Regions from separate parts of the Homo sapiens genome. Here regions 1, 2, 3, 4, 6 and 7 are each linked to region 5. The links are contacts of gene promoters, found by promoter capture Hi-C in blood cells and fetal thymus (Javierre and others, 2016). All regions are on one chromosome and are shown on one strand. Each heading gives the region's core, a stretch centred on a gene start or on the middle of the fragment in contact. The rest is flanking DNA. Distances are from core to core; before and after follow the strand shown.

Evidence for each region. The method cuts DNA at HindIII sites, captures the fragments that hold promoters and counts their contacts. A CHiCAGO score of 5 or more calls a contact.
Region 1: a contact is called between a fragment that was not itself captured here and the fragment with the promoter of CEP170 in region 5, in 1 of 17 cell types (naive CD8 T cells). The highest score is 5.5, in naive CD8 T cells.
Region 2: a fragment that was not itself captured here is called in contact with the fragment with the promoter of CEP170 in region 5 in 1 of 17 cell types (M2 macrophages); the score reaches 10.3 in M2 macrophages.
Region 3: the fragment with the promoter of COX20 here is called in contact with the fragment with the promoter of CEP170 in region 5 in 1 of 17 cell types (neutrophils); the score reaches 5.7 in neutrophils.
Region 4: a contact is called between a fragment that was not itself captured here and the fragment with the promoter of CEP170 in region 5, in 1 of 17 cell types (M1 macrophages). The highest score is 6.5, in M1 macrophages.
Region 6: a contact is called between a fragment that was not itself captured here and the fragment with the promoter of CEP170 in region 5, in 1 of 17 cell types (non-activated CD4 T cells). The highest score is 5.8, in non-activated CD4 T cells.
Region 7: a fragment that was not itself captured here is called in contact with the fragment with the promoter of CEP170 in region 5 in 1 of 17 cell types (total CD4 T cells); the score reaches 5.1 in total CD4 T cells.

What each region holds. Positions count from the first base shown.
Region 1 is chr1:241,642,948-241,646,864 of GRCh38, reverse strand. No RefSeq gene overlaps it. Among named protein-coding and RNA genes, the nearest start is that of OPN3, 4.5 kb to the right of the region's middle. The HindIII fragment of the contact is 1,035 bases long and covers 1,485-2,519 here.
Region 2 is chr1:241,616,718-241,620,741 of GRCh38, reverse strand. All of the region lies in intron 1 of OPN3 (opsin 3), which reads left to right. Among named protein-coding and RNA genes, the nearest start is that of CHML, 22 kb to the left of the region's middle. The HindIII fragment of the contact is 1,527 bases long and covers 1,073-2,599 here.
Region 3 is chr1:244,833,263-244,837,097 of GRCh38, reverse strand. It overlaps COX20 (cytochrome c oxidase assembly factor COX20), which reads right to left and starts at 1,440. Exons shown (of 4, transcript NM_198076.6): 1 at 1,342-1,440. The coding sequence starts at 1,383. RefSeq lists silencers at 1,087-1,376, 1,417-1,466, 1,707-2,046 and enhancers at 1,547-1,666, 2,207-2,266, 2,770-3,529. The HindIII fragment of the contact is 7,018 bases long and covers 147-3,835 here.
Region 4 is chr1:241,546,523-241,550,606 of GRCh38, reverse strand. It overlaps KMO (kynurenine 3-monooxygenase), which reads right to left. Exons shown (of 15, transcript NM_003679.5): 2 at 1,709-1,778; 3 at 833-930. Among named protein-coding and RNA genes, the nearest start is that of KMO, 16 kb to the right of the region's middle. The HindIII fragment of the contact is 2,762 bases long and covers 703-3,464 here.
Region 5 is chr1:243,252,404-243,256,530 of GRCh38, reverse strand. CEP170 (centrosomal protein 170) reads left to right here and starts at 1,250. Exons shown (of 20, transcript NM_014812.3): 1 at 1,250-1,491. SDCCAG8 (SHH signaling and ciliogenesis regulator SDCCAG8) reads right to left here and starts at 490. Exons shown (of 18, transcript NM_006642.5): 1 at 291-490. The coding sequence starts at 357. The HindIII fragment of the contact is 10,208 bases long and covers 1-2,730 here.
Region 6 is chr1:244,966,704-244,969,771 of GRCh38, reverse strand. LOC124900416 reads left to right here. Exons shown (of 4, transcript XM_054328428.1): 3 at 1-2,799. EFCAB2-AS1 (EFCAB2 antisense RNA 1) reads left to right here. Exons shown (of 2, transcript NR_111907.1): 2 at 1-3,068. DRC8 (dynein regulatory complex subunit 8) reads right to left here and starts at 90. Exons shown (of 8, transcript NM_032328.4): 1 at 1-90. RefSeq lists a silencer at 1-27 and an enhancer at 1,236-1,740. The HindIII fragment of the contact is 738 bases long and covers 1,409-2,146 here.
Region 7 is chr1:241,858,569-241,862,650 of GRCh38, reverse strand. It overlaps EXO1 (exonuclease 1), which reads right to left. Exons shown (of 16, transcript NM_130398.4): 8 at 3,933-4,082; 9 at 1,947-2,134; 10 at 1,149-1,245. Among named protein-coding and RNA genes, the nearest start is that of EXO1, 12 kb to the right of the region's middle. The HindIII fragment of the contact is 793 bases long and covers 1,068-1,860 here.

The sequences.
Region 1 (3,917 bases), core at 753-3,252, 1.6 Mb after region 5:
AAACTTAAGGCATGCTAGATTCTCCTTTTTTTAAAAAAAAGTTCAAGCACATCCACTAAATTGCATTTCCTAAGGTAGGAAAAGTGCATACATGTTTCACAAGATTTTCAGTAAGGGCTCTTCTGCTGCTCACCAGAGACCAAGGTTAGAGGGGCCAGGGAAGAATGTGTCTCAACCCTGGGAAAAGGAATGCTTGATGGAAGTTCCCTCTCTGTTGTCCCCTTATGATGCAGAAGGCTAGGGGTTATCAGTTTCCAAACAAGAATGTCAAATGAAACGTGTCTCCATTCCTCGCTCCCCTATACTTTGCAAAGGACTTCCTTGGAATATAGGTATTGTGATAATTTAATGTTCCAATGTAAGAGGGTGTTTAGAGGGTTTTAAATGAACCTCTTTCTGTCTAAAGGACAGGCTAGACGGCCCACGCGGGAGGATGTGTGCAGTCACTGGGAACCAGTTCCGCAAGCATTAGCTCCTGCTCACCTTCAAACTATTTAAGAGAAGGCAACGAGTTCATTAGGAGCTCAAGGATATCCTTAATGAGCACTTCCACAGAGAGAGTGTTCAGCATGGAGGAGCCATGACATCTCCCCATTTCTTTCCATCCCAGGGGCACTGACAGGGAGAGTCTGGGGCTGGCCAGCTCTCTGCAGCAGACCACTTCCAGAATTTGGCAGGGCAAAAGATGCATACATATGTACAGAGGAACAGACGCTAGACTCTCAGTAGAGGGGCCAGACTGGGTCAGCTTGGGAGGGTCCCCAAGCAGGGTCAGAGAGTGAGATCCCAGCAGACAGCTACTAAAGGCATTGCCTCTGTCGAGAGAGTTGTGTGAGAAAGATGCCAGAGATCTCAATTTCTCTAGAGAACCTGAAAATCATCCTAGAAGAGAAAAACCCAACATTTAAAACTTGCTACAACCAGAGAGCACTAATATCAATTATTTTTAAAAGACAAAGTTGCAATCTGTTGCCCAGGCTGGATTGCTGTCTCCTGGGTTCAAGTGATTCTTCTGACTCAGCCTCCTGAGTAGCTGGGATTACAGGTGCATGCCACCTCACCTGGCTAATTTTCATATTTTTAGTAGAGATAGGATTTCACCATGTTGGCCAGGCTGGTCTCGAACTCCTGACCTCAAGTGATCTGCCCATCTCGGCCTCCCAAAGTGCTGGGATTACAGGCGTGAGCCACCGTGCCTGGCAGAGAGCACCAATATCAGACTACAACTTAACCAATCAAGGAAGATTTTTTTTCCCTCACAATCTCAAAGGGGCCCAGAGCAGCATCTACAGGTAGCGAGCGGATCAAGAAAATGGGGGAAGCTAAAGTTGTTTTCCTTCTCACCTCCACCCTCACAGAAGTTCTCCAGGCCTGAGGCTGGCTGTATCTTGGAGGGTGTGGACAAGCGAGTTTTCCGTGAGTTTTAGCTTTTCAGCATTACAATGTGCTGGCCTTGATGTCAACTGCAAGGGAGCAGAAAAGCTTTGGAAGCTGCCAAAATTCCATCTAAGGGCAGGAAGGAGCAAATGGTCAGAAAACATTTGAAATGAGTAGGGAGAACAAGCTGCTTTTTGGTTGCAGCATACTGAGTTCAGCTTGCTTCCTCAACTGGTTATAGTAGTTTATTTCTCCCACTCTGAGAGAGTGAAATGCAGGCACAATTTGCACATGCTTTTTTCTTTTTTTAAAAAAAAAAGTGGTAAAATATACATAACATAAAATTTTCCTTTCTAACCATTTTTAAGTATACCATTCAGTGGCATTGTGTACATTTACAATCTTGTGCAACCATTACTACTATTCGTCTCCAGAATTTTTTCGTCATCTTAAACAGAAACTCTCTACCCATTAAACACTAACTTCTTATTCTTCCCTCTTCTCAGCTTCTGGTAACCACCATTCTACTTTCTGTCTCTGTGAATTTGCCTGTTATAGGTACCTCATATCATTGGGATCATATAATATTTGTCCTTTTGTGTTTGGCTTATTTCCCTTATCGTAATGTTTTCAAGGTTCATCCATGTTGTAGCATGTACTAGAATTTCATTTCTTTTAAAATATGGCTGTATAATATTCCATTGTATGTATATATCACATTCCATGTATCATTCATCTGTTGATGGGCATTTGAGTTGTTTCTATTTTTTGGCTATTTTGAATAATCCTATTATGAACATAAGTATACAAATACCTGTTTGAGTCCCTGCTTTCAATTCTTTTGTGTATATACCTAGGAATAGGATTGCTAGATCATATGGCAATTTTTTTTGTTTTGAGACAGGGTCTCACTCTCTTGCCCAGGGTGGAGCGCAGTGACACGATCACAGCTCACTGCAACCTCAAACTCCTGGGCTCAAGGGATCCTTCTGCCTCAGCCTCCTGAATAGTTGGGTGAGACTACAGGTATGTGCCACCACACCCAGCTAATTTTTTATTTTTTTCTGAAGAGATGGGGTCTTACTATGTTGCCCAGGCTGGTCATTGTACTCTTGGCCTCAAGTGATCATCCTGCTTAAGCTTCCCAAAGCACTGGGATTACAGGAATGAGCTCACAATAATTCTATGTTTAACTTTTTGTGGAACTACCAAATTGTCTTCCACAGGAGCCACACCATTTCACATTCCCATCAGCAGTACGACAGGGTTCTAATTTCTACACATCTCCACACAAAAACCAACACTTGTTTTTGTGTTTTGTTTTGTTTTTTGATGATAGCCCTTCTAGTAGGTGTGAAGTGGTATGTCATTGTGGCTTTGATTTGCATTTCCCTAATGACTAATCACAGTAAGTTTCCTTCCATGTGCTTTTAGGCCATTAGTATATTTTTGGAGTAATGTCTACTCAGATCCTTTGCCTATTTCTGAATTGGGTTGTGTGGAGTTTTTTGTTGTTGAGTTGTAGGGGGTCTTTATAATATTGATGCCTTATCAGATATATGACTTGCAAGTATTTCTCCCATTTGCTGTGCTGTCTTTTCACTCTTTTGATAGTGCCCTTTGATGCATAACAGTTTTTAATTTTGATAAAGTCCAATTTAGCTATTTTTCTCCTGTTGCCTGTGCTTTTGGTGTCATACCCAAGAAGTTTTCTTCTAAAAGTTTTATAGTTTTAGCTTTTACATATAGGTCTCCAATCAATTTTGAGTTAATTTTTATATATGATATAATGTAAGGCTCCAACTTCATTCATTTGCACATGGATATGCAGTTTTCCCAGCATCATTTGTTGAAAAGACTGTCCTTTCCTCCTTTCCCCATTGAATGGCCTTGGCATCCTTGTCAAAAATCAATGGACCATATATGTAAGAGTTTATATCTTGGCTCTCTATTCTATTCCATTGGTCTACATGTTTGTCCTTATGCTGTGTATTAGGCTGTTCTTGCACTGCTGTAAATACCTGAGACTGGGTAATTTATAAAGAAAAGCGATTTAATTGGCTCACAGTTCTGCAGGCTGTACAGGAAGCATGGTGTTGGCATCTACTCAGCTTCTGGGGAGGCCTCAGGGAGCTTTTACTCATGGTGGAAGGCAAAGTGAGAGCAGGCATCTCACATGGCGACAACCAGATAGGGAGAGAGAGAGAGAGAGAGTGGGATGGCGGAGTTGCCACACACTTTTAGATGACCAGAGCTCACTTATCACAAAGGGGATGGCCCAGGCCATTCATGAGGGATCCGCCCCCTATGACCAAAACACCTACCACTAGGACCCACCTCTAATATTGGGGATTATATTTCAACATGAGATTTGGGTGGGGACAAACATCCAAACTATATCATGCTGGTGTTTTTCATTTGTTTGTTTTTTGTTTTTTTTTTTAATAAAAGATTGTAGTGTTCTGCCATTATCCTGTCATTACATAATTCTAAAATTAAAAAAGAAACATATATCCTTATCATTGCCTGTTTCTGTCAAG
Region 2 (4,024 bases), core at 587-3,086, 1.6 Mb after region 5:
AAATATAAAATATCTCAATAATTTTATATTGATTAAAAATTGAAATAATATTTTGCATATATTAATGTGTTAGTTCAAGCTGCTATAACAAAATACCCTAAAGTGGGTGGCTTGTAAACACAGAAATTTATATTTCACAGTTCCAGAGGTTGGAAGTCTGAGATCAGGGTACCAGCAGGTTGGGTTCTGGTGAGGGCCCTCTTCCAGGTTAGTGTGCTTACTTGTGTTATCCTCACATGGCAGAAAGAGAACCAGAGTTAGCTCTGTGGCCTCTTACAACAGCACTAATTCCATTCACCAGGGCTCTGCCTTCATGGCCTAATCACCTTCCAAAGATGTCACCTCATACCATCACTCTGAGGGTTAGGGTTTCAGCACATGCATTTGGGGGGCCACAAACATCCAGTCCATACCAGTTGGGTAAAATAAAATATGTTATTAAAGTTAATTGCATCTGTTTCTTTTTACCTTTTAAAAATTTAAATGTTTGTGGCTCACATTATATTTCTACTGAACAATGCTGCTCTAGGGTTTATAATTAAACCTGAAATTGCTAGGCATGTACATGCTGGGCAAATTTTCAGATTGATTATTTTCAACTTCCCTCAGTCCCTCCCCTTTATTTAACACCCCCACCCCCAACCCTGCCCCACCCTGTATTCCCCAGTACTTGGTGAACTTTCCTCTGTCTGGGCTCCTCTGGCACTTAACATCTGTATGTCTCATTTGGCATTTCAAATACGCAATTTTGTATTTTACTTTGTTCTTTCATATTGCGTTTTCCCCTTTACATCAAGGACCATATTTTATGACTTTGCTTCTCCAGAACTAAACTCAGGGCCCTATACGTTAGAGCAACTCAAACATTTAAAGAAGATTTAGACACACCGGCCTGGTGACTGTCTGCTGTTAGGCTGTGATTTGTCCTGGAACACTTTTATCTGATTTACTTAGAATATGCCACAAGTTTCTTGTACAGCCAGGCTTCTGCTTTCCATAATGTGAGAGAATTCCCTAAGAAGTAACATCAGTCTGTTTCATGATGAAACTGCCCATGTCTCCCCAACAAGCTTCTCACTTCGTGATGGGTCTGGAGTCTAGGGAACTGGTGAGGCCAGGGTGAACCTCAAGGGCATTTAGTTAGATTTTCAAGAGCTTTTCATATGACATCACTTTCAGCCATTTTATGATATGCTGTGTCAGGTTCTATAAAATATGGCATTATTATAGTTTATTGGACTATAAGAAGCAGCAGAATTGCAAAAGACAAGGAGATAGGTAAAGAGGGATAAAAGCTAGAAATGAGTAAAGTACAGAAATCAGAACTGCCTGTATAAGCTAGAAAAGATGCCCTTTCCTCAGGGCTGGCTCAGCCTGGCACCCGGACATCGGTACTGACTCTCTCAACTAGGGAGCCTTGTGCATAGTATTACCTTTAGTGTCCCGTGCAGTACTGTTTTGTGAAATGTTAACGCAAATGAATGGTTCAGTTCTTATGTTGGGGCAATTTCCAAATTCCTAATATGCAGCCACTGAGCAGCAGATGGGGACAAAGGCAAGCAAGTTTTAGAGCCCAGTATGAAACAACCAGAAGGTTTTCCTGAAAGTTCTCAAGTTCCAAAGGATGAAGGAGTGTTGATGTAGAAAGATCCGTGAAGAATGAAGGGTTTCACACATAAAAGGCACCATAGCACTGAATTGTAAGTATGTACTGTCTCCTTGCCTGGAGTGATCCTTAATTATATCTGAAATATATATATATATATATAAACTAGCCTGCCCACTGGAGGCTTGAGGCATATCTCTTTATTCTCTATTTCTTAAAGATGTAGAAGAATTCTTAGATAAGATGAAATAAGCAAAAATAAATAAATACAAAAGTGGGTGTGCCAAAAAAAAAAAAAAGATACAATGAGAAAAGAAGAAAGCCTTAAACCTGGCATATACATGAAAGTCTTCTCATTGAACAGAACCATTCCATAGAACATTAAGGTCCTTAAATATATTCCCAATTCTGTGCTGCTGCCTGCACAAAGAGACACAGAACGATGGCGGTGTTGCTCTGCTGAAAACGATGGAGGTCAGCACGGACCAGAAATGGGCTGGCTGCGGAATCCATCAGAGACAGGAGAGAGGGCCACCCCTCTGCGCTGCACCTCTTGGTGTGGGATTGAGACTGAAGGCTTCAGAGGCATCTGGAGTGGTTTCTTGTGCTCCTGCACCAGTGATGGGAATTGAGGAAAACCTGGGAATTGAGCAAATAGTGATAGAGATTATATTAAAGGAAATCTGATTTTAATCTTGACCCATCGTTCTGAAAGTCAGGATCATCAGTGGTAACTTTGAAACTTACAGATATTCACGTTCTGTCCTAAGCCTACTGGATCAAGTATTTTCAAGGGCAGAGCCTAGGAATCAGCATTTTAAACCATCTCCTCAGGAGTTTCGTATGTAGCTATTTCAAAAGCTGGCATTTGGAAACAGCATTCTTATTAAAGGAAAGAGACATGCTGCTCTGATCCAGAAGGTGTTAAATTGAACATCAAAGAGATGAGTTAAATTCATGTTAACCCCAATTTGACAGTGTGGAAGAGAAGCTTGAAATAGTAGAATGTGAATGGGTCTGGGAACTAGCCTTGTTCTAACACCTACTTTGTGGTCTTGGGGAAAATATCTCATATTTCTAAAGTTTCCTTCTCCCACCTTCTTTTTTTTATTTTTATTTATTTATTTTTTTTAGTTCTTCATTACTTGACATTCTCAGATCAGGATGACTAAGACTTCCAAGGAAATGAGATTTTTCTTGCCTGTCCAGATTGTTCCACACTGGTCACCAATATGGGTTTTGCTTTATACTCCAACGCCTCCACCTCACAAGTTTGTTTACAACTTAAAGCATTTTGCCCAAACATAGAACTGCACAGGCTATATAGCAATTATGTTTTTCCTTAGCACGTTATATATGACAAGCTTCTTCTCTCATTCTTCTCATATGGTCCTGAGGTATCACATCACATTTTCTGGTTGATTAATTACTCACACACAATTACAGTGGAGCGTGTGATATTCATTCTTGAGAGAAGAGTCGCACTCGCCCTCTGTGTTTCCGTGCTCTCCATTTGCATCAGCAGCAGGGTAATAGAAAATGACTTAAATGGAATCAGTGTTGTTATCACCCGCTCTAAAACCTAAACCCTGAGCTCCCTTGAGAGCTTTGTAAATTATAAATGATGGAATGAAGATTTAATTCAGTGCCTCTGAGATTCCCTCATATTTTTCATTTGCTCTTCTGGGATATCGGATTTTTTTCATTTGCTGTCAGGTTAATAATCTAGGAAGGAACACTTAGAAACTAGACTCATCATTGCAGGTCACAGAGCTATTCCACAATTTATTCATGTGTTGAATGTTTTCATAGAATTAAAAAGACCTCAAGCTTCGCCATTGCTGAGAAACAACTTGCTTTGTGTAATCTTTTTGGGGAAAATCCAAATAGAGCTCCACACTAGCAGTCAGAAGGTCTGGGTTCTCATTCAAATAGAACCTTCCTAGTCTTGTGACCTTAGGCTAGTCACGGATATCAGCCCCTTTTCTCACACTCTCATCAAATGGGGACGATGAGACTTTCCTGCCTGACATGTCTGGAAAGATCTAATTAGAAAAATACATTAAAAAGTACTTTGAAAATTATAAAATATCATATGAAATAAAGTTATTATAATGTATTATTTTGATTAGAGAATAAGAGATGATAAATCCAACAGGATTGTCATTTGACTTTATAACACTCATAAAAATGAATATTTTATAGATTTTTTAATAGCCAAAAATTATCATGTAAGGACTGTCAAATCATATTTTGAGTTGAAAAAGTGATCCTTTAGGTAAAAAACAGCAGGGAGTTGGCCTTGTTTTACATTCTTCTGACCTGTGTATTGCTAGTTCCCTGAGGGAAAAAAAAATTTTTCATTGAAATGTCAACTGTGGCTATTTCTAAGCAACATTTCACCTGAGTGTTTGGTTA
Region 3 (3,835 bases), core at 191-2,690, 1.6 Mb before region 5:
TGGATTAAACCACCTTTATGACCTTTAAAAACAGCAGTTATCTCCTACCAAAAGTCCCATTCAGGATTCCAGTGTTTATCACAAAACTGAATCTAGGATTTACTGTGTGTATGCAAAGATCTTTTTTTTTTTTTAAACACTAAGCTTATTCCAGATGGGCAGTGTATGGGACAGTAAAAACAGATAAGGCACCAGTAGTACGTAAACTGACAACCTGTTGGATATTAAGTATGAAAACAATTTATACAATATTTGTTAATATTAACCATATGATCTGATGTCATGGCCAAATTTGGATGGAAGCCCACCAGAGAAGCAAGCAAGAGCAAGAAGTGAGCAGAATTTCCAAGCTGGGAGAATATCTTAAGTATATATTAGGAGCCATTTAGCACACAGTGGGTCTTCTATAAATATTTGCTCGTGATTAGCCAATGTTACGATCTCCCTAGTTTATATTAAACTTTTTTCCTCTTGCATTATTCTTTTCTGAATACCTGTTCTGCCCTGAGGATATAAATTAGGTTCCCTGCTCTTAATAAGGAGCCCAGGAAAAGAGGAAAACAAGATCATTTATTACCTTCCAATATGATAAATGTAACGACGTACAAGATGCCTGGGAAGATGGGGAAAGTACGTAAGTCAGCTTTGGTGAAACACAGGAGCCCTTCCAGGGAGAGCGCTTGGTTTAGCTTTACTATACCAAGAATTTGGGTTTTATCCTTAAAGAGATAGGATGGGCTGCTACGACTGGATGTTAGGCAGAGGAATGAAAACTGTCCAGTTTACAGGCTGGAAAGGGCCAGCGGACAATAGTGGAAGGTGGATTCAGGAGAGTATGGAGACAGGGACACCAGCTAGGGAGGCTACTGGTGATGGGGAAGAAATCTTAACCCTTCATCTCATCGTAGTACAATCAAGTCATCCCTCAGCAATTACTCCTATGTTAAATGTGATGAATACAACGTGTTAAAGACAAGGCACCTGTCCTCAACGGAGCTTTAATCTCTACTATTAGCCTTTACTAACAAATTACAGTGCAGTGCCCTTAGCAGCAAAATTTTCTCGCCAAAGATTCAGTATTGTTAGCTTATTTCATAATGACCTGTAGTAAGTCATTAGTACTACTGGTCCCCTCCTCCCCCTAGTTTTGGTCAATTTTGTCCCGGCCACTTAGATTAAAATGTTGGAGGCTTGGGATAAGGACTAGGAACAGTTAAAATAGTTTCAAGCCCATGGGTGGCAGAGAAGCCAGTGACACGTGCTCCGGGCCTAGGAGCTCCGCGGAGAACGTCCTTACCCACCGCCCACCCGCGGCGCGCGCCCCGCCGACCCCCAGGTTACCTTCCTCTCCTCGGGCTCACCGGGCTCCGGCGGGGCGGCCATGAGGACTACTCCGCGACTCCACCCGCCCTGCACCGCCGGGGTCGCGGAAGCAGAAGCCCGGCTGGCCGCGCCCCTCCCCGTCCCGCCCCCACGCGCCGCCGCCTCCCGCCCTGTTCCGACGCGCCGGCCGCCATTTTAGGGAATGTTCCTAACGCTCCGCAGTGGCCGCACGGGGCCGGGCTGTCATGTCCTTTGTTCCGTCGAACGGGTCACACTTTCTTCCAAGCTCGGCACACAGCCTGCAGGGGCGGGAGAGCGGAAGGAGATGGGTTCGGAAAACAAACCGACTCCTAGATTCCTGGCGAGGTGGGGGCGTAACCGAGCCAGACAGCCCCGCTTCCCGCGCCAGCCCCCTGCTCCGCCCCAACCGCCATTTCTAACCGTCTCCGGCGCGCGTGCTCACACGCACGAGCCTCGGGCGCGCGCCGAGGGGCGGGGCCGCTGCTTTGTCCTGCGGGGTGGGCCCCACCGCGGGGGTCGGCCCGGCCCCAGCCCCCAGCCCGCCCCAGCCCACCGACCCGGAAGGCGCTCCGCGCTGGCTCGGCGGCCCTCGTCCCCTAAGTGTCCTTTGTCCTTCCGGCCACGGGACGAGCCCTTGGTGCCGGGGCAGCCCCACTCTGCACCAGCAGCCATTTAGTCCCCCGCGCCTGCCTTGCGCAAACGGGGCTCCCACGCCCACCCCACTTCCTCCCTTTTATAGTTTCATTACTAAGTGGCTTTAACATAGAACCGCGCAGTTCGCCTAAAGGAGACTGGGGACAAAATGGAGGGAGCAGCTCGCTAATGAACATGCGTCAGCACGTTGGTGTCCGCGGAGAGGGCGCGCGTGTGGCGAAGTCTTCCGGCGTCCCCGAAGGAAAAATGCCTCTGCAACGTGCATTTTTGATGTGAAGTCGTGTTCCACGTTTCACTCCTCCCTAAGACTGCGACATAACGTGAAACAAAATACTGCATATTGTCGAGCTCAATGGAGAACGCGTGCATGCAGGGTCGAGCCCATTTTTCAGCCATCAAAATAATACAATGCAATTTTTTCTAGTATTTATAATTTTTCCCCTTTAACTTTATGCCTCCTTTATGTACTTCTACATTTCACGTTTAGGTTATATGTAACCTAAGGGCACTCCTTAGGAAACTGGACTTGTAGAATATGTCATTGTGCAAAGTCATGCTGCTTCGAATTATGCTGCGCGCTGGCACACAGCAAGCGCTCAGTGTTAACGATGTCGAATTCATATTAAGTACTGTTCATTGGGCGTTTTCTTACTCCGTAAGGACCTTACTTGCATGCCCATTTGATACCTTTCTACAATCCCAGTAAAATACACAGTTAAGGTTGTGTATTTATGTGTCACATTTTTTTTTTTGAGGTTTTTTTTTGCGGGGGCGGGGGGGGTTTTTTTGTTTTTGTTTTTGAAATTGTAGTTAGAAACTACATACTGTGCCGGGCGCGGAGGCTCACGCCTGTAATCCCAACACTTTGGGGGCTGAGGCGGGCGGATCACGAGGTCAGGAGTTCGGGACCAGCCTGGTCAACTTGGTGAAACCTCGCCTCTACTAAAAATACAAAAATTAGCCTGGCGTGGTGGGGGGCGCCTGTAATCCCAGCTACTCGGCAGCCTGAGGAAGGAGAATAGCTTGAAAACGGAAGGCGGAGGTTGCAGGGAGCCGAGATCGTGCCACTGTACTCCAGCCTGGGAGAAAGAGCGAAACTCCGTCTGGGCGGGGGGAGAAACTACATACTGCTCTACTGTTTGCTAGGGAAAAGAAAAAAAGTCACCCTACTGGTGATATCCTGCCAATTCTGGATTCTCTGCTGAAATTATAATGCTAACTATGCTTTGAACTCCGGATCTGAAAGGCCGTGTTGAAGGTAGTAATATTCCATGAAGGAGGGGGAAATCCTTTTGAAGTCATTGTTGATTATGTTGTAAAAGGAAAACTGGAAAAGTACCAGCTAAAACACCACCGAGTCATCCTATTTTATTTTTATTATGACTTTGAAAATTTGCTAGAGTAGACATTGTTGGGGTCTATTTCATTTGTCTTTGAAAAGTATTTTCATAAGGATGATTTATTTTTTATTTTTTATTTTTTTTGAGACAGAGTCTCACTTTGTCGCTCAGGCTGGAGTGCAGTGGCGCAATCTCAGCTCACTGCAACCTCTGCCTCCCGGGTTCAAGTGATTCTCCTGCCTCAGCTTCCTGAGTAGCAGCTGGGATTACAGGCGCCTGCCACCACACCCGGCTAATTTTTGTATTTTTAGTAGAGAAAGGGTTTCACTATGTTGGCCAGGCTGGCCTCAAACTCCTGACCTCAGGTGATACGCCTGCCTCTGGTTTCCAGAGTGCTGGGATTACAGGCGTGAGCCACTGCGCCTGGCCTATTTTAAAATTTTTATTTTCACAAAATTGCATATAATATTTCCATTTTTAATTGTTTAACAGTTATA
Region 4 (4,084 bases), core at 834-3,333, 1.7 Mb after region 5:
CAATGCAAAGTGTTTTCTTACACATGACTGCTGCTATCTGGGAGAAAATAATAGGAATGCAAATAGCACTCATATTTGCTAGTACTGTCAGCTCAAAGACACATTGTCACTGAAAGTAGTATCAAGAAAAATACATCTATCATGTCTGTTTATATTACCAAGCTAACATAGACAGTGAAAAGTTCTACAACATTAAGCTCACATGATGAAAATCTACTACAGGCCCACCATTCTTTATCCAAACCCATGGGGCCTGATGGTTTCAGAATTCAGAATTTTTCAATTTTAGAAAGTAGTGTAGTACACATATGCTGGATATCACATAAACCCGCCCCATAATCAAACACAAAATTTCTGTAGCAAAACATATTTATGCTAAATGAGATTTTTAAAAGACTACAAAGAGTCTCATGTCAAGTCAGATTTTGCTACTCAATGAGTGATGAGAAGCTTTCTATTTTCAGAGTCTTTTTGGAGTATAGAATTGTAGATAAGATATTACGGGCCTGTGCAATTGAAAAAAAAAAGGAATCTGGCTCCTTTTATCCTGGATGCCATCTTGACTCTCACTTTCTACAGGCAGTGACGCACCATCCTGTTGAGAACCCAATATCAGAAGCAATCATCCGGTTGCAGGGTCCTCCTCGGGTGCCTCGAGTGTCCAATGTTCACCCTCTTGCCAAATTTCGAATTTTAAAAGCTTTAGTAGAATGAGTTTTCATGCAGAGATTCTTGGTATTAAATGGTACTTTTTAAGCCAGGATGAAATCAAACCATGCAATTGTTGAAAAATACCAGGTATTATCTTCTGTAAGAAAGATACATTAAGTACCTGATCTTCCAGGCCAACAGCTTTCAAGGCTTGTCGTCCTCTATGAGAAAGGGCTAAGTTAATGCTTCTTCCACGTGTGAAGGTAGCCACTCGAGTATCTGAGACATTGGAAGCAGACTCCATGTTACGCACACTTTATATCCTAGCTCAGGATGAGCAAAATTACTGCATCTGAACAACTGGTTCATTCGGAACCACATTAAAGAACTTCTTAACTCTTCTAAAGAAAATGCTAATAGCAGTAACTTTATATTAAATTAAATTTAGATAGTTGGTGTTTTTTTTTAAACAAAACTAGTTTTTTTAAGAAAAGCGTTTTATTAAAGAAACTTTTTAAGTTCAGAAAATCTAAAGAAAAGTCAAAGAATTAGAACCACATCCTGCAATTCTTTTTCTTTCTTTCTATCTTTCTTTCCTTCTATCTTTCTTTCTTTCTTTTCATCTTTCTTTCTTGCTCTTTCTCTCTTTCTTTCTTGCTCTTTCTCCTTTCTTTCTTTCTTCCTTCCTTTCTTTCTTTCTTTCTTTCTTTCTTTCTTTCTTTCTTTCTTTCTTTCTTTCTTTCTTTCTTTCTTCCTTTTCTTTCTCTCTCTCTCTCTTTCTCTCTCTTTCTTTGGGTCTTGCCCTTTCACCCAGGCTGGAGCACAGTGGCATGATCTCGCCTCACTGCAACCTCCGCCTCCTGGGTCCAAGCAATCCTCCTACCACACACCACCACACCAGGCTAATTTTTGTATTTTTTGTAGAGATGGGGTTTTGCCATGTTGCCCAGGCTGGTCTCAAACTCCCGGCCTCAAGCGATCCATGTGCCCTGGCCTCCCAAAGTGCCAGGAGCCACCGTGCCCAGCGTTCATCCTGCTTTTTTCACCATGGACGTACCTTCCCTAGCTTCATATACATCAATCTGGAAATTCCTCTTTGCAAGAAAGCATGCTTGTAATGAGCCAACCTAGAAATTAAAAAAAAATTAAATATTTATCTGATTCCACAAATATAGGGAATTTTTAGCAGCAAAATGAAACATCATGTGAGGCTATGTTTTACTAGCCTCACATTGTGTGTGGTCATATTTTACCAGCCTCATTTATCACATTGATTTACTCAATTTCTGCTGAAAAGTATCAGTGGCAAAAATAGCAATATTTATTCAAGATTAAGTAATATGATTTTAGAAGTAGTTTTTTTTTTTTTTACTTTTTTATAGTGAGGTAATTTTCAAACAGAAAGAACATAAAACATATATATCTTACAGAATAATTAGAAAGCAATTCTTTATAGCCTTATATCCCTTATAACCACTACTTTGGTCAAAAAGTAGAATAGCGTCATTCCTCCAAAACTCCCCCCACCTCCTCCCCAGTTACAGTCCTCTTCCTCTCACATAGACGTAAACATTATTCTGACTTCTGTGATAACCCATTCTTGCTTTTTTACATTTTAGCCTTTAGGTATACATATTTCTAAGCAATATACTTTAATTTTACCCATTAAAAATTTTTTAAGTTTTTTTGTAGAGATGGGGTCTCACTATGTTGCCCAGTCTGGTCTCAAACTCCTGGGCTCAAGTGATTCTCCCACCTTGGCCTCTCAAAGTGCTAGAATTATAGGCATGAGCCACTGTGCCCCGCCATTTACCCATTTTTTAAAACCCTATAGTTAGAATCACACTGTGTGTGTGTGTGTGTGTGTTTTGTTTGTTTTTGCATCTTGCTTCTCTAAGGCAACATTGTGGGATTCATTTATATGGTTACATGTAAACTTAAGGTCATCTTTTTTTTTGTTTCTATATGATTCTTCATTAAATGAAAGATCACAGATTATCTGCCCTACTGTCAAAGGACACTTGAGTTGTTTCTGGTCTGGGAATATGTTAACAATGCTTCAAATAACATTTGTGTGTGTGTGCAGGAATTCTGGTACATATATGATAACTTTTTTTCAAGGGTTCTATACATGGAAGTGGAATATCTGGTCAAAAGTTTATGTACCGTCACTTTTCTGATGCCAAACTGTTTCAAGAGTTGGTTGTAACACCAGCAGCTTCTGAAAATTTATCTTTGCCAGCACTTGATGTTCTCAAACTTTTCATTATTGTGGAGTGGGAGGGTGGGAGCTGGTAAGTTGGAGAGGAATGTAGTTTTACTTTGCATATGCTTAATTACTAAAGAAGTTGAGCACTTTTTTTTTTTTTTTTGAGACAGAGTCTCGCTCTGTCACCCAGGCTGGAGTGCAGTGAGCACTTTTTCATATATTGATTGGCTGTTTGGATCTCCTCTTTCACCAAGTGTCTGTTTAGATCTTTTGCCCATTTTCTATTGGGTTGCCTATCTTTTTTCTTTTCTTTCTTTTTCTTTTGTTTAGTTGTTCATAGAGTCTGAATATAGAGTCTTTGTCATTTTTAAACATTAAAAATATCTTCCATTCTGTGTCTTGCTTCTTAAATGCTATAGTCTATTTTGAGTATGAGAAGCTGTTTATTTTAATGTAACCATATTCACCAATCTTTTATTTTATTATTAATGCAATTACAATAGTCATTTTATTTTTAATGCAATTACAAATGTCTTGTTCAAGAGATCTTTGCCTATTCTGAGATCATGAAGAATTTTTTCTGATCTCTTGTCTTTTTAAAGCTTTAGAGTGTTGCCCTACCAGTAGCTTTATATAGGCTGTGGTAGTTTACTACCTCATCACTGGCAACCTGTATTTGGTAAAGTCATCTGTATATAATTATCACACTTGAATTTTCAACAATAGTCAATACCGTTAACTAAACCTTCTGGAAACATTAACCTTCTCTCATTTTCTGGTTTTCTTCATACGTCTCTGGCCAGTCCCACTTTTCCTCTTTCACCATTGCAAAGACGGACAAATATTGGAGTTTCTCAAATCTCCATCCAAGTCTGTCTTCTCCATCCATGATGATGTGAAAATGTATATTTCCTATCCAGATCTGTTTTTTGAGCTCATGCATGCAAATGTTTAAGTGATACAGCTTCTTGTATGTCTCAAAGCACCTCAAAATCAACAGATCCGAATTGAAACTTGCGATCATCGCCTCCCATCTCATCAATTCTCTCCACATATTCCCTATGTAAGTGAATGATATGCCATCCATCCAGTTGCTCAAACTAGAAAGCTAGGAGTCACCGTCTCTCCTTGATACTCCATTCCCAGTTCTGCCAGTTCTACCTTACAATGTTTTTCCATCTACCCATCTCTTTTCATTTTCACCTTTCTGCCTCTAGTTATTGG
Region 5 (4,127 bases), core at 1-2,500:
AATGGCATAGAGCTATCCAAGAGTTTCTGCTGTCGCCGGTTGAGAAAGATGCCAAGTTAAGATCAAGGAGTTGATTGAGGTAACTACGGGAATCTGAGGAAACATCGTTGCTTAACTGTAAAAACTAAATCAAACTATTTCATCCTCCTCAAGACCACAGCAACATCCATCTTGCTCCTCTGTAGCGTGGACGGGGCAGAACCCAGGTGTTAGGAAACGCACCTGGTCTGCTCCCGCCCACTAGGCCCTGGGCACCTCGGGGCTAGGGACAGAGGTTTGGAGCAACTCACCCCGGAGACTCCGTTGATACTGCCCCAGAATCTCCTCCAGGGTAGAGTTCTCCGGGGACTTCGCCATGCACGCACTCTAGGCCCAGAGCTGGGAGTTACGTGGGGAAATGTCCAGCTTTCTCCCTTCCGAGAACAACAGGCCTGTGGCCGGGGAGCGCCCGCCTGCTTCCTGCCGCGGCTGTCACAGGGGAGCCTAGAATCCCGCACAGAGCTCTTGGGGGCTCTTCCCACCCACTGGCCCTCGCTTTGCACGTCGGGAGTTGTAGTCCTCACGTTCAGAACCTGCAAGCTCGACAATCCTCAGGGCCTTCCAGTTACACTACAATTCCCAGAAACCACTGCGCTCCAGGCGCTAGCTTGGACGGTTTGGCTGCCAGAGCCTGCTGCCAAGAGACAGGCTTGCAGGCCCCGCCCTTTTCCTCCAGCCCAGCCTGGTTTAGTCCCGCCTCCATCCCACTCTTCAGCTGCCTGGACCACCCAAATGACAGAAAGGGCTCACTGAAGGCCTTGACGCTTCGAAATTTGCTAATATGCAGCAGTTGATCCCCAGGCTACTCAAGGACGCAGATAGTAAACTCTGAACCCTGCTTCAGTTGCGAGATTTTTTAAAACGGTCGAATAAATCTTCAAGAAATAGAAGCTCTAAATCTTCCAAACAGCCTAGATTGTAAAGGCGGCCGACACTACAACTCCTAGCATGCCCAGCAACCGGACCTTCACTTGGAGTTGGCGCTCTGCCCGCTGGGAACTGTAGTCCTTGTTGGTTGCGGTCCCACCTAACGCCGAGGTCCTCTTCATTGTTCAAGCTGGTCTTTCGGGGCACGCCTGCGCAGTGGGCAAGCTGGAAAAGCGTGTGGGTGAGACCCTCGCACAACCCCTTTTCATTGTCTGTGTGTGGCGCCTGCGCAGTAAGGGATCGTTGGAACTGGGCAGGAGGGGATAGGGTCCGGCTCCTCGCCCTTTCCCGAGGCGCCTGCGCACTAGGCAGTCGGTCTTTGCCGTTACCGCTATGTGTGGGGCGTGTGTGGAATAACGTTATTGCCCAGCGGAGCTGAGGGCCCCGGAGCTCGACCGCAGCGGCAGCGACGACAACAGCGGCGACGACGACGACGACGAGGTGGGGGGAGGACGGCGTGCGAGAGACTCACGGGACGCGACGCGCCCCGCCTCCCCCGTCCGGTCCCTCTCTCCACGGTAAGGGGTAAGTGATGCGATCGGCTGCTCGGTGTAGGCGCCGCAGCCGCAGCCACCGCCGCGGCTGCTTTCCACATCCTGCTCCTCGGGTTTGCGGCGAGGACTCGGGCGCCGCCCGCCGCGGGGCGGGGGTGCGGGGCTGGACCGCGAAGGGGGCGCTTCCCGGGTGCTCCGCGCGGCGCCGCCACCCCCACCCTCTGCCCGCCTGGGACCCGGGGCTTGACGGGACCACCCTTCCCATCCCCCACCCGCCGCCCCCCGGAGCTCCAGTCCTGCGGCCCCCCGGCTTTCCCGAGCCCCTTGCTGCCGCCTCCGCATCCCCTAAGTGCATTGAATCATTTTCAGCTTTCGACTGGCTTTGTGCAGCCCTCCCCCCTCCGCCGTAGCAGTTTGCGAGGGGTGCGGGCGGAGCATTGGAGGGAATGGCTGCGCTGCCGCTGGGGAAGGGATTTTTCCCCCATTGGAGCAGCTCCCCGGGCCAATCCCTTTTGTGTGATTGGTTTTGGGGTGTGAGGCGGTTGGCGAGGTCAGGCGAGCAACCTTTTGGACGCGTTGGGAGGGCGTGGAAGACGCGGTGTCATGCACCCTGCCTGGCGACTGCACCCCGTGGAGGCTCTGGCTCTGTAGTAAACCCGGGGGAGGAGAGAGTGGCTTCCTGTCGGCTTCATTGTCCTAGGATTCAGATGTAGGGTTTTGGTACGTTTCGCTTCCATTTTATGCAAGCGATGAAAAAATAACATTTGCAGCTGCCTAACACAGGGCGGGAAGACGTGGGATTTGTATACTAAGTCACAGAATCTCTGTTCGGTGGTGTTTCGTAGAGTTTTATTTATTTATTTATTTATTTATTTATTTATTTTGAGGAATGTAAGGAAGACAGGGACTATGCCTGCTGGAGTCCAAGCACTGCCAAGGTGATCAATATAAAATTACTAGGTGACGTTGGAGCCTGGGCTAGAGAGGGCCTGACAACGAAGCTGTTGTGTCAGGGAAATGAACAAGCAGAATTGTTTTTTCATTGGGCAGGTAATGCATTTATGTTCCTGAGGGAATGGATACATCTTTCCGTTTATTTTTTAAGCAAGTAAAACAAACAAAACAACTGGCCCAGTACATTTCTGTTACCGAAGTTGTTAACTCATTTTTATTCTCTTAATGAAAATTCAGCCATTTGGGAGGAATTTGGCGAAGCAGATGATACATTTGATTGAAAATGCATATTTTAAAATGATTTAATCCTTAAGCTTACAATGTATGCAGCCGTTTGCTGGCGTTGCTTCTTAAAACACACCAGAAGAGAGAATAAAGCAGGATGGGGAGGAGCAGGTGGAGGAATAATGGGAGAGGAGAGAGTGACATTATGACTATAGTATCTGGATCTTCACTGGTATAACCCTAACTGGGTATGCTTCAGAGACTTAGGAATTCAGCTCTGGAAACAGTACACTGATGAATAGCAACTTATGTATTTTTCTGTTATTATTTTTTAAAAAGTAAAACTAGGGCTGCCTTTAGCTCTTCCTAACTTTGTAGATAACACGGAAGAGCCCAAGTGCACTTGACAGAGGAAGACACTAAAACTCAGAAAGTTAACTGACTTGTCTGCCCAAGCCAGACAGTTAATCGAAGGCAGAGCCAAACGAAACTCAAGGTCCATTCTGCAGAGTGATCTTTCCTGTGTCCCCCTAGCCCTTTTACCTTGTGAAAATGTATGGAAAGCTTCTCTATGTGCTCCCTGAGTAGGCTGTGACTATCACTGAACTTGATTCTCACCGTGATTAATCTAGTTCTTGCCTTTGTGATGTAAAAGTAGTAATCCTCCTAAAATGGACCTTTACTTTCATAAAGTAACTTACTACATGAGGAAAGATGTCCTAACATGTGCTTTTCATAAAAACGAAGTGTTGCAGTGTTTTCCCTACTACCTAATGGTAGCTACTTAACGGTAGGTTTTAATATTATTTCTTGAAAATCAATAGTATTTTATAATAGTATGATGATCAACTCTATAGGCTGTGTTAAAAATAAAATTTCCGCATAACAAGAACCTATGATGTTTATTTTGCCACAGTTAATGAGTTGTAATCATTAATGAGTTATTAGTGATTACTTTTAACTTAAACTAGAATTTACATTTTAAGATATATTAACTTTATGTTTTTTATTGGGTTGATTTTGCCATAAAGTGCTTTTTTCTTCCCTTATAATTTTAATCGTTTAATTTTACGTTGCATTTTAATAGACTTCTTTAAAGGATTTATTATTTATCTTAAATTTCAACTTTAAAAATCTGTAACTAAATTTCAGTATGTGGGATTATATTCAATCATGCTTTAAATGTATTTTACTGGTAAATTTCATTGTGTTCTGAGATTATTTTGTATGGAAATAATCTGCCTGTTCCCTATTTTAACATTAGAATAGTGAAATTTATACTGTAAACCTTAGCATACATTCTGCATATTAATGCTGTTATGGTACTTTTTAAAATTCTGTGCTTCGTGATTTATTTGATTTGTTCCAAGTATCAGTTTCTTGTTCCTTTTTATCTACTGAAAAAAAGAACTAGTTTTATTATTGTATCTGATTGCAATTAGATAATGCTCATCTAGTACTAAATATTGTATATGCTTAAGCTTTTTT
Region 6 (3,068 bases), core at 528-3,027, 1.7 Mb before region 5:
CAGCCTATGACAACCGAAGCTAAAACGGAAAAACTGGGCCGGGCGCAAGAGGAAACCAGAGCCATTCGACTATTGCTAGAGGAGAGGAATAGCTGCAGGAAAACATGCGCAAAATAGCACAAACATTGCGTCGTCAAGGCTGCAATGTCTAATACAAAATAGAAGGTTCTCATAGCAACAAAAACGTGCCCATGTTGTGCTCAGTATTACATGCGTTAAAATGTTCTTAGTTGTGAAATTTGACATGACCGCTAGTTAAAGTTACAATGGAAGTTTTAAATCCCGCTTTCCGAAAACTTTGCAGCTATAGCATGAAGTTAAATTTTTGTCTTATTTTCTGGATAAGTTTACTATACTGGAACATAGTAAAGCTCTTTTTATAAAGAGCTTTGAATAAAATACCTAATGATGTGGTTGAAACGAACACCTATTTTCAAAACTAATCTTAAGTGGTATTTCAGTGCATATGTTATGTAAAAGCAATTTATAAACTAAATTTTAAGAGCCTTCAAAATACAAGGTACTCGTATTTAATGACTTAACAGTTTTAATGCTTTTATTGTTTCTATAATCTCTCAGGAAATCCTAAAACTGACTATATTTTTCTTTATTAAAATAACTTTTTCTGTAGAAGATACCCATTTGGCGCTGTGATCAGCATTCTACTTGAAATTGAATATAAACAACTGAATCATTACAAAATGGCTCATGTTAGAAGATACTTAAAACGAATACAATCTTGTACAGTAAATGTTTAACACCCCAAAATAACGAAAAGTAATTATTAGCATTCATTTATATCTAAATCTCAGTCAATATGATCTAAATATTTGTGTTTAAAGACTCCCCCTTTCCATATAGATAATGAAGGGCTTTGAAATAAGTGTAGGAAACCCTAAGTTTGGTCTCAGGCTTCCTATTCATTCACTATGCTTTTTCGTGTGCTGTTTACAGTTTCCTTTTTCTGGAATGCCTTTCCCTGCTTTTTTCCCCCGCCAACATTTCAGCTTCCCACAGACACACATTTGTGCCCTCCTGGTTGTCCTGCAGGATGACCTTTGTTTTTGTTTTTGTCTTTTGTTTTTCGAGACAGGGTCTCGCTCTGTCGTCCAGGATGGAGTGCAGTGGTGTGATCTCTGCTCACTGCAACTTCCGCCTCCCGGTCTCAAGTGACCCTCCCACCGCAACCTCCCAAGTAGCTGGGAGGAGCGGCGCGCGCCACCATGTCTGGCTAGTTTTTGTATTTTTTGTAGAGACAGAGTTTCCCCATGTTGCCCAGGCTGCTCTCAAACTCCTGAGCTCAAGCGATCTGCCGCCTGCCTGGCCCTCCCAAAGTTCTGGGATTACAGGTGTGAGCCACTGTGCCTGGCCAGGATGACCTTTTTGAAGTCACCTAGTCATTGAAGCTTTCCCTCTCAGCCTTTTCCTCTGTGGCCCCATGCTTATAGAGCCTCCCACATTGATTTGCAGTGCCTTCGTTCGTTCACTTTATTTCCACCTACCAAACAGTAAGATCTTGAAGACAGAAACGGCATTATTCGTTTATATATCCCCGGTATCTAGTACAATTTTTCTGTTTGCAATAATAAATGTCTTAAAACTTAAGAAAGGAGTAAGTCTTCTCAATGACTTTTTTTAAAAAAGACCCAGATTCAGCACTTATTGTATGTAAGACAGACCTTCCTTTTACATTACATTTTTCATCAGTAAAAGTACTGGGCCAGGCGCGGTGGCTCACGCATAATCTCAGCACTTTGGGAGGCTGAAGCGGGTGGATCACTTCAGGTCATGAGTTAAAGACCCACCTGGCCAACATGGTAAAACCCCATCTCTACTAAAAATAGAAAAATTAGCCGAATGTGGTGGCTCACGCCTGTAATCCCAGCTACTCGGGAGGCTGAGACAGAAGAATCGCTTGAACCCAGGAGGCAGAGGTTGCAGTGAGCCGAGATCCGCCACTGCACTCCAGCCCAGATGACAGAGCAAGACTCCATCCCCAAAAAAAGGTACTAGTATTTCATGTTAATAAAATGGAATTCTTATATAAACATATATAAATTAAAAATTATTTTAAGAGTTGAACAGATTTCTCTGCAAATCCCCCTATATTTTTATATTTTTTAAACTAACTGTATTCAGCAAAGCTTTTTATTATTTAATTTATTCCAAACCACATTAATCAGTATTTCTCTGAACTCCTACAGCACATTTAAAACAGTACTGTTTCTCTAGGTGTGGGTGAGTAAAAAAATATTTAATATATGTTAATTAACTTCCGCATCTCCTGACCCCACTAAGGTTTGAATAGGAGCCTCCCCCTTTATAAACCCTTTTTATATACCCACACTACCTAGCCTAATTGGGGCACATATTAGCTGCTTCATACATACTTTTCAACTGCCTAATTTGCTGATTAGGCATAAAAGTATATAATTCTGGAAAAGTCTCCACAAGGTGAAAATGATTATCCAAATAATAAAGGCCCACAATGCCAGTGAGTACATTATCTGCATTATGCTGATATTTGACTCCTTTCAACTCTCTTTGGTTGTAGAAACATGACCGATGATTATATTACACTTTTAACTCTTTAAATATTATTAGCTTGCTTTGGACTGTGGAAAACTAACTACAATCATTTTTATTCCTCAGAATATATTTTGCGGCCGGGCACGGTGGCTCATGCCTGTATACCCAGCACTTTGGGAGGCCGAGGTGGGCAGATCACGAGGCCAGGAGTTCGAGACCAACCTGGCCAATATGGTGTAACCCCGTCTCTACTAAAAGTACAAACATTAGGTGGGCATAGTGCTGCAAGCCTGTAGTCCTAGCTACTCAGGAGGCTGAGGCAGAAGAATCACTTGAACCCAGGAGGCAGAGGTTGCAGTGAGCCAAGATCATGGCATTGCACTCCAGCCTGGGTGACAGAGCAAGACTCCATCTTAAAAAATATATATATATATATAGATAGATAGATAGATAGATGTATATATACATATACGTATACATATACGTATATGTATACGTATACATATATGTAGAGTATATATACATCTACGTATATGTAT
Region 7 (4,082 bases), core at 215-2,714, 1.4 Mb after region 5:
TCTGCCTTTATGAAGACCACATTCTATTGGAAAGAATCAGAAAAGAATAGAAGCATGTTATACAGTAATAAGTGCTAAGTAGGAAATAAAAGAGAAATGTGATTAAAAGTTGATTAAAAACATGAAGAGTTTAGTTTTGCCTATAAATAGACTTGGAGGCTACAGGAAATCAGAGACGCAAGAGACAGTGAGAATTCTGTGGTTGGTGCACAGGCGAGAGACTGGAGTAAAGATGGAGATGTGAGTTCTTTACGTAAATGGGATTAAAGCCCTAAGGACTTACCTAAGGAAGAAATGTAAACAGAAAAGAGAACAGAGGATAAACAGAAATACAAAGAGAAAGACAATGATGGGAGACAGTATCTTAAGGAATACATACAATACTGAAGAAGCAGAAGAAAACAGCAAATCGCGGCTAGGAGTGGTGGCTCACGCCTGTAATCCCAGCGCTTTGGGAGGCCGAGGTGGGCAGATCACCCGAGGTTGGGAGTTCCAGACCAGCCTGGCCAACATGCAGAAATCCTGTCTCTACTAAAAATACAAAATTAGCCGGGCGTGGTGGTGCATGCCTGTAATCCTAGCTACCCAGGAGGCTGAGGCAGGAGAATTGCTCGAACCTGGGAGGCGGAGGTTGTGGTGAGCTGAGATCGCACCATTGCACTCCAGCCTGGGCAACAAGAATGAAACTCTGTCTCAAAAAAGAAAAATAAAAGAAAACAGCAAATTGTTTAAAGAAACAGCAGGGGCGTGCATTAAATATTTGTTAAATTGTGCATGAGTGAAAAAACAGCTTTAACTCCCGTAGCATTCCTAGGCTTGGGTCTTCAATGATGCCAAATGCCACAGAAGCCGAACGGAGTGAGATGAGAAAAAAAGGCATCAAATGCTTGGTATATTCAAATGAAATGCTCAAGGATAAGGGTTTGATAATAAATAACAGTCACTTCTTAATTTTAAAAAATTAACCAATATACCTATGCTCTAATACATGTAATTTCTCTAGGATCAAGTTGTTTTTAATGTACATTCTGCACAGAGCCTGGATATAGAAACGCTTAAAAGAAGCTTAGTGTATGAAGATTTGCCTTTAATCACAGCTCGGGACATAACTAAAACGTGTTTTCATAGGGTGGTCATCAAAACGTTACCATAGCAGTGTCTGGATTGTAGTCATCGATCTGTTCAAAAGTATTTATATCTTTATTTCCAAGTGCTATTTGAAGAGCTATGGAATCATCAACATATCTAGATTAGCAAGATTAAGGAAAAATGTATTTATTAACAACCAACCAAATGATATTATACTAAGATGGAAAAATGTTTTCTATTGTCACGAAAATCCATAGGTTTATGACTTAAATGGAGTCTCCTTACTTTATACATCAGCATTACTGAAAGCAGACACAGTTTGCTAGTCTCTATCTGTCTCTGCAGGAGTTGGTGTCTTCTGACGAGGGCCCAGGCCATCACTGACTCCCTGCCTTTAAGGGAAACAGAGGGGAAAGTCCTAGCCACCACCTAAGTGACTCAGGGCTCTGCATCAGCCTGCATGTACATGGCCAGTGGCTATGGGAAGGGCATCCTCTCCTGATGCACTCAAATGCCCAGAATGCTCTTCCTGATAAGTCGAGCTTGCTTGCCACGAGGAGGTCCTCTCAAGAGCCACCTTTGGAATGTGTACCGTAAGTGACGGACCCTGTGCATGCTACTGTCAGTCAATCTAAGTAATCAGGATGCATAGTGGATGAGCCTCGGGTTTATAAACAAAAAGTTGTTCTCAATTTTCACTAGCATGGTAATTTAAATGAACAATATACAGATTTCACTATAAAAAAGAGAGCAAAAAATAATGTGCAAGCTTTTTACTAAATGCCTCACAAAAAAATCACCATAAAAATATTGAAGAAAAATGCACAAATTCTACCATTCTGTTTCAGAAAGGATACTGCCCAGCGTAGCTTAGTGTTTCAGGATCAACATCATCTTCATAGGCGTTCAGAGGAATAAGTTTCCTTTTGATGGGATCAAAAACTAGCTGATAGAGGAAGGTATTGTTGGCCCGAATAAACCCGTTGATGTAATCCTCTGGTACCGTGATATTCATCTTGAGATAATGTCCAATTTTCTTGATAACCTAACAATGCATGCAAAAATATTTTATCTGCAACTAAAGAACAGGGAACATATTATCCTCAAGGCTGATTGATTTACATTCATAAAGAGGGATTGAAACATTAACTGCTTTCATCTACATTAAAAAATTCTACCAGCTAACACAACCATGTTACATCACTTAAAATTCTAAGTCTCATAACTAGTATTTTCTTTGGTTTTTCTATTACTAATTTGAAGGATAAAAAAATACAGTTATATAGTACATCAAGTTTGTGCTTCTAGGTGTAACTTTGAGATACATTATCCATTCATCTTCAAAGTCCTTTTTATCAAGAAAGGAAAAAAAAAGAACATCCAAAATCTGAGAATTAAAAAAATGCAAATATTTCTAGATCATATTTTTAAACCAAGTTGACATTCTGATTTCTGTGAGAGTCATGGATGCTTAAAGCTGGAAAGGATCCTAAACATTGCATAGTAAATTCATAGATGAAAAAGGGAAGGCCCAGAGAACCAAACGGATCCTGGAGTCACAGGCTAGTTAAGGCACGTGGTCCTATTCCCACCTGGGACACTATCTTCCAACCTAGAGATCTTTCCATTACATGACATCACTCTTAGTCCTGAGGACTCAGGCCTTATACTCCTGGAAATAGAAAAATGAAATTTCTGCTCTGCAAACTGTTAAGGGTTTAGAGAATATCCAAGGGGGAAAATGAGCTTCTTTGATGTTTATTTTTTAAGACAAACTACAAAGTAGCAATGTCCAGAGTCTCAGAATTTTCCAGATGATATATGATACATGGTATCAAATGAGGCTTAATAAGGCAGCAGATACAGGTTGGGTACACATTATCCAAAATGCTTGGCACCAGAAGTGTTTCAGATTTTGAATTTTTTCAGATTTTGGAATATTTGCATATACACGTTATGAGATAACTTAGGGATGGGGCCCAAGTCTAAACATAAAATCCATTTACGTTTCCACACACTGACAGCAAGAGGGTGAAGAAGAAAAAAAACTCAATTTATGTTTCATATAAGCCTTACACACATAGACTGAAGGTAATTTTATACAGTATTTTTAATTATTTTGTGTACTCTTCACATGAGATCAGGTGTGGAATTTTTCACTTGCCTGCCGGGACTCAAAAAGTTTTGGATTTTTGAACATTTCAGATTTTTGGATTAGGGATGTTCAACTTGTATACGAACACAGCTGTCTTCTATTAGGCCACATTAAAGAGATTTGCATAAATGTATGATTCCTCTCTCTCATAATTTTTGTTTTAAAAAATGATTATTTTTCATAAAAGCATGCTATTTATGCTAACATGTAATGAGTTTATTATAAAGTTTAAGTGAATTGATAAACATTTAAATTTTTGTTTTAATTTTTAATTCAGTAAATATCAATAGCTATCGCCTACATAAACAAAAAATATTACCATAAAGGAGCTTGAGGAGTGTAAAGGGATCCTGCGACCAAACAGTTTGAGAACCACTACTATAGAGTTATAGCACAGAAGTCAAAAGACTCCGAGTTTAATTTTACCCTAGAATATTTTCTCCTTGAGCCTCTTTATACTAGTCTTTGTTTTAAAAATCACTACTTTTTTGCCAATTGCAGAAAACATGATTTTCCCAATATATGTTAGTTGCTAAGGCAAAGTTCTAGTGCCTCAGTCATTTGCTCCTTTTAATAATATAATATAGGTTATTCGCATAACAGAATATTTAAATCCATATTATGATTTATTATTTTATTAAGGAAATGCTTCAGAAATTGAATATGACACTTAGCAAATCACTCTTACCTTTACTATATCTGGATTATTGGCTAGTCTTAGGACTTTGCATGCCTTTGCTAATCCAATCCCACGCAGTGATGACAGGTAGTCACAACCTGAAAGAATACACATGTAACGAAACTTCTCTTCCGTGAATACATCCCCAAGCTGTCTGCA